Regions from separate parts of the Homo sapiens genome. Here region 1 is linked to region 2. Evidence: promoter capture Hi-C in human tissues and cell types (Jung and others, 2019). All regions are on one chromosome and are shown on one strand. Each heading gives the region's core, a stretch centred on a gene start or on the middle of the fragment in contact. The rest is flanking DNA. Distances are from core to core; before and after follow the strand shown.

Region 1 (2,749 bases), core at 88-2,587, 110 kb after region 2:
GGCTAAAAACTTTCATGGGAATTTAAACTGGTTCTAGGTCTGAATTCACACTCCCTATGTGGTACAACAAAATTTAAACAGAGATTCTAATTAAAAGTTGTTTCGGATTGGTAGTGCCCCAGGTGCTTGAAAGAAACAAATAGCAATTATAAGATGTCATTAATTGTGCCTGGTTTTCAGAGATGTTAAAATATGAAAAAAATGGCCAGGCGCGGTGGCTCATGCCTGTAATCCCAGCACTTTGGGAGGCCAAGGCAGGCGGATCACGAGGTCAGGAGATCAGGACCATCCTGGCTAATGTGTTGAAACCCCATCTCTACTAAAAATACAAAAAATTAGCCAGGCGTGGTGGCAGGTGCCTTAGTCCCAGCTACTCGGGAGGCTGAGGCAGGAGAATGGCGTGAACCCGGGAGGCGGAGCTTGCAGTGAGCAGCGATCACGCCACTGCACTCCAGCCTGGGCGACAGAGCGAGACTCCGTCTCAAAAAAAAGAAAAAAATATGGTACCATGTACCAGGCACTGTTAGAGTTACAGCTGTGAACAAAACAGACCTCTCTGTCTTCCTTGAGTTTATATTCTGGGGAGGGGAATGTTTTGACAAAGTAAGAATATACATGGTATACTAGATGTTGCAGATATCTAAGTAAGATGACTAAAAATTGACCATCAGATTTAGTAATTTGGAATTTCTTGCTGATCTTGATGGGAGAGGCTTTGGTAGGGTAATCAGGAAGCAAAAGCCTCTTGGGGTGATTTTGAATGGGAGGAAAGGAATTGGAGACAGTTACAGCTTCTTGGAGTGTTGCTGTGAAGGAGAGCAGAGAAATGGATAAGTAGCTGGTGAGGAAACTGGGGTTATGGCTTATCTTTTTCAGTGAGATAACTGAGAGTATGTTTCTACAGTGCTGATGAGGATGCACCAGTAGAGAGGGAAATATTGCTGATGCAGGAGGGAGAAAGGGGAATGACTAGGCAATAGGGTTTGGAGTCTGGTGTTCAAGTGGAGGAGTTGGCTGTAGATAGGAGCAGTCAGTTCATCTACAGTGCATAACAGGAGAGAGGACAGGGCAAATGGTGGTAGTGATTGCCTTCTCTTTCACTGAGGAAGTGGAAGGGCAGCAACTAGGAGTAAGCATGGACGAGGAAATGTTCATTGATAGCTTGAGGAAAGAGAAAATGGCATAAAATGTACCAAATAGAGGAGTGGGAGAATGAATGGATGAGGCAAAAGTTTTGATTGTCATGCTGAGCTAAGAGACCATTTGAAGTTAGCTGTTGTGAATTTTATGTGAGAACTGTTTAGTATGAATGTTTTATTTTTATTATTTCATTTTAATTTTGAGACAGGATCTTACTCCGTCAGCCAGGCTTGAGTGCCGTGGTGCATAGCTCACTGCATCCTTCAACCTCCCAGGCTCAAGTGATTCTCCCACCTCAGCCTCCCAAGTAGCTGGGACCACAGGCATGTGCCACAACGCCTGACTAATTTTTTTGATTTTTTTTTGTAGAGACAAAGTCTTACTATGTTGCCCAGGCTGGTCTCAACCTCCTGGGATAAGCTGTCCTCCTGTCTCACCCTCCCAAGTAGCTGGAACTATAGCCAAGTACCACCATGCCTGGCTAATTTTAAAATTTTTTGTAGAGACAAGGTCTCCCTATGTTGACCAGGCTGGTCTCAAACTCCTGGGCTCATATGATCCTTCTGCCTCTGCCTCCCAAAGTGCTGGGATTACAGGCATGAGCCACTGCATCTGGCTCTTTTTTTCCTTTTTAAAGCCACATTTAGCTGCATGGTGCAGGCATAGAGTAGATGGACAGCTGCATTTTTTTTAAACATGTTATTCAGGAAAATTTTAAACATACAAAAGTAAATAGAGCCCTCATGTACTCATCACCCAGTTTCAACAAATATTTACTCACTGCTAATCTTGTTTTATTTGTACCCTCAACCATTTCTACTTTTCCATATTATTTTGAAGCAATCCCAAACATCATATTTTGTGCTTAAATATTTCATGTTTCTCTAAAAGATATGAACTCTTACCAAAAAGTACCATTACCATACTAAAAGATTTAACAATTCCTTGATATCAAATATCCTGTCAGTTTCTTTTTCTTTTCTTTTTTAGTTTTTGTTTTATTTTAAAATTTAATTTATTTTTGAGACAGGGTCTCACTCTGTCGCCCCGACTGGAGTGCAGTGGCACGATCTCAGCTCACTGCAACCTCCGCCTCCCAGACTCAAGCGATTCTTCTGCCTCAGCCTCCTGAGTAGCTGGGATTACAGCCATGTAGCACACTGCCCAACTAATTTTTGTATTTTTAGTAGAGACAGGGTTTCGCCATGTTGGCCAGGCTGGTCTTGAACTCCTGACCTCAAATGATCCACCTGCCTGGCCTAGTTTTTGTTTTATTGATTGATTGATTGGTTGATTGATTGTCTGACAGGGTCTCGCTCTGTCGCCCAGGCTGGAGTGCAGTGGTGCAAACACGGCTCATCGCAGCCTTGACCTCTTGGGCTCAGTTGATCCTTCTTCCTCAGCCTCCCAAGTAGCTGGGAGTATAGGCATGCACCACCATGCCCAGCTGTTAGTTTTCTAATTTCCAGTTGCCTCCCGAATGTCCTAAATGTTTTTGTTTTTCTTAACAGGGGTTGTATTTAATCAGGGTTGGTGTTTTGCCAGGCAGGTATGATGAAATGAGAGTGGAAGTCAAGAGACTTGAGGTGTATGCAAGGGAATGATTATA
Region 2 (2,841 bases), core at 306-2,805:
AAGGGGGGAGGGGGCTGCTGCCCTGCAATACTGAGGAGCTGGCCAGCCAGGGAGCCGCCCTCCTTACCCCCAGCCAGATATCCAGGCAGGAACCTGAAACCTGCTTCCCCAGATGCACTCTCTTGTCCTCAGGTCCCATCTGAGGCAGACCTGTCTCACAGGACAGCGCTGGAGTCCCCAGCAGCAGCAGCAGCCCCAGCCCTATGGTTCCTGGCAAACCCAGCAGACCTCAGCAACCCGGCTCCTGCAGACCATCCGAGCTGCCTCTGTCCACTCCTGGGCAGGTTGTGCTTGCATTCTGGAAGCTGTTTGACATACAAAGGCCAGATATCAGCCTTCTCGCTAACTCTGGAGTAGGGGAGGGTGTGGTGGGATGTGTGATTGTGTGTGTATGTGTGTGTATGTAGTGTGTGTGCGCATAGATATACAAAGCTGTGTGTATGCATCTGTTTGCGTGCGCAGGTTTGTGGACCTGTTCTGGGGCCTTCTCTCTTTCAGACTGCTGGGGATGGGCACTTTCTCTTTCCCCATCTCTTCCCCATCCAGCCCCACCCATCCCTGGTACCTGCAACTCATCAATACTGGAAACCAGCTCCTGCCAGTCCATCCATCTCTCAGCCTTGGCAGCCGCTGTTGCCCCTCAGCCCCCTCCCCTTCCTACCTCAGGAATCACTCTGGTTCCTGTAAAGCCCATGACTGAGCAGCAATTGGTGTGGGGTTGGGGGGAGGGAGAATCCAGTAAACCAAGACAGAATACAAAAGGCCCACTTAGCCCAGCCCGTGGCATGGGGCAGACCCTCCCGAGTGGGATCCAGAGCTGGGTCCAGCCACCCTCAGCCCCCTATGATGTACCCACCTCATTGGGGCTTGTTGCGGGGTAGGTCTAGGTTTGGGGGCTGTGTCTTTAAGGCTGAAACATCAGCAGACAACCTCTGCTGGGCCGTCTTCAGGGGAGGGGGAGGGGGGCTGGTCAGCCCATTAGCAGCAGAGCTGGCGCCAGGCACCAGCCCTTCACAGGGCCCTGGGGATTAGGGAGAGTAGCTCTTCCCCAGCCCGATCTGCCTCTGCGCCCCTGTCTCCTATTCCTCTCTGGGTGTGGTGAAGGAGGGGTAGCTGACAGCAGGTGAAAATAGAGCCTGGCCTTCAGGGGGCAAGTCAAGGCACTAGCTATGGGGCCTAAGCCAGGTCAACTCTCCCTCCAGCTGGCCTCCTCCCTACTCCTGTGCCAGAAGCCTGCCCTTTAACTTCAGGTCCTTCTACCTCGCAATTTTCAGGGACTCTAGTTCAAGTCAGGCCTTCCTACCCTAGGTTCTAGCTTTGGGTGCTTGTTGGGAGGAAGTGACCCCCACCCCAGCGGCAACAGGGGGCAATCAAGTGGGTAGAGGCCTGCAACCAGGGAAGGGAGGGGAAGGCGCTCCTGCTGTTCCGCAGGGGTGGGGCATCCCCCTCCCCATACAACCCCCCTCCAGCGGGCCATCAGGCCAGTGGGAGGAGCTGCCCGTGCCCCCCCTGAGACCGCAGGGCTATAAAGCCGCCTCGCAGCGGTCTGCGGCTCCTTCCCAGCCCCCGGCCTAGCTCTGCGAACGGTGACTGCCCATCCTTGGCCGCAATGAGCCACCACCCGTCGGGCCTCCGGGCCGGCTTCAGCTCCACCTCATACCGCCGTACCTTCGGTCCACCGCCCTCACTATCCCCCGGGGCCTTCTCCTACTCGTCCAGCTCCCGCTTCTCCAGCAGCCGCCTGCTGGGCTCCGCGTCCCCGAGCTCCTCGGTGCGCCTGGGCAGCTTCCGTAGCCCCCGAGCGGGAGCGGGCGCCCTCCTGCGCCTGCCCTCGGAGCGCCTCGACTTCTCCATGGCCGAGGCCCTCAACCAGGAGTTCCTGGCCACGCGCAGCAACGAGAAGCAGGAGCTGCAGGAGCTCAACGACCGCTTCGCCAACTTCATCGAGAAGGTACGCTTTCTGGAGCAGCAGAACGCGGCCCTGCGCGGGGAGCTGAGCCAAGCCCGGGGCCAGGAGCCGGCGCGCGCCGACCAGCTGTGCCAGCAGGAGCTGCGCGAGCTGCGGCGAGAGCTGGAGCTGTTGGGCCGCGAGCGTGACCGGGTGCAGGTGGAGCGCGACGGGCTGGCGGAGGACCTGGCGGCGCTCAAGCAGAGGTCAGGGGGCAGGGCTGGGCCGCTGCCGTCGAGGCGAGGTCGAAGCGGCCGTCGAGGCGGCTGCTCTTGCCTCCCCTCGCTTCCCCTCTCCATCAGCAGCCCAAGGGTGTGGCTCCCCTTACCAACCCAGGTGTGTGCGGGCAGCATCCCTGCCCACGGGCTCCAAGTGCCCCCCGCTACCCCTTTGCTCTGAGTGTTTGGGGAGGTGGGAGAAGTGGGTATCTGTGCCTCCCCTGAGTAATGAGGAAACCCCCTTTTCAGCTCCCAGTCCGTTAGAGACAATGCGGGGCAATTCCATTAGACAGCCTCAGCCCTCCATTTAGAGTCCTGGGCAGCAGAACAGCCTCTAACCGGATCCTGGGGGGCGTGCGGTCTGGGGTGCGAGCTGGGCGGCGACCCCGCAGTTCAGCCTCTGCACGCTCTTCCCGTCAGGTTGGAGGAGGAGACGCGCAAGCGGGAGGACGCGGAGCACAACCTCGTGCTCTTCCGCAAGGTGAGTCCGAGCCCCTCTCCGAGTTCAGCCTCCCCACCGCTACCCCCGATCTCAGTATCCAGAGGTGGCATCGGTGGGCGCGGGGAGAAGGGGGTAACCCAGATGCCTCCTGAGGCAGACAGGGAAGGCCTGGTCCTTCCTTGGTCTGCGCAGCCCCTAACTTATCTTGAACCTCCACTGCCACCCCTCGAAGG

The links. Contacts are between HindIII fragments. The study calls those that stand out against the background at their distance.
Region 1: a contact is called between a fragment that was not itself captured here and the fragment with the promoter of PRPH in region 2, in 3 of the 25 tissues and cell types used here (IMR-90 fibroblasts, lymphoblastoid cells and mesenchymal stem cells).

What each region holds. Positions count from the first base shown.
Region 1 is chr12:49,399,553-49,402,301 of GRCh38, forward strand. All of the region lies in intron 2 of SPATS2 (spermatogenesis associated serine rich 2), which reads left to right. Among named protein-coding and RNA genes, the nearest start is that of SPATS2, 33 kb to the left of the region's middle. The HindIII fragment of the contact is 8,029 bases long and covers 1-2,749 here.
Region 2 is chr12:49,293,592-49,296,432 of GRCh38, forward strand. PRPH (peripherin) reads left to right here and starts at 1,556. Exons shown (of 9, transcript NM_006262.4): 1 at 1,556-2,154; 2 at 2,587-2,647; 3 at 2,841. The coding sequence starts at 1,610. It overlaps TROAP-AS1 (TROAP and PRPH antisense RNA 1), which reads right to left. Exons shown (of 8, transcript NR_120449.1): 6 at 1,669-2,841; 7 at 857-944; 8 at 1-305. RefSeq lists enhancers at 1-574, 654-1,571, 1,572-2,488. The HindIII fragment of the contact is 28,443 bases long and covers 1-2,841 here.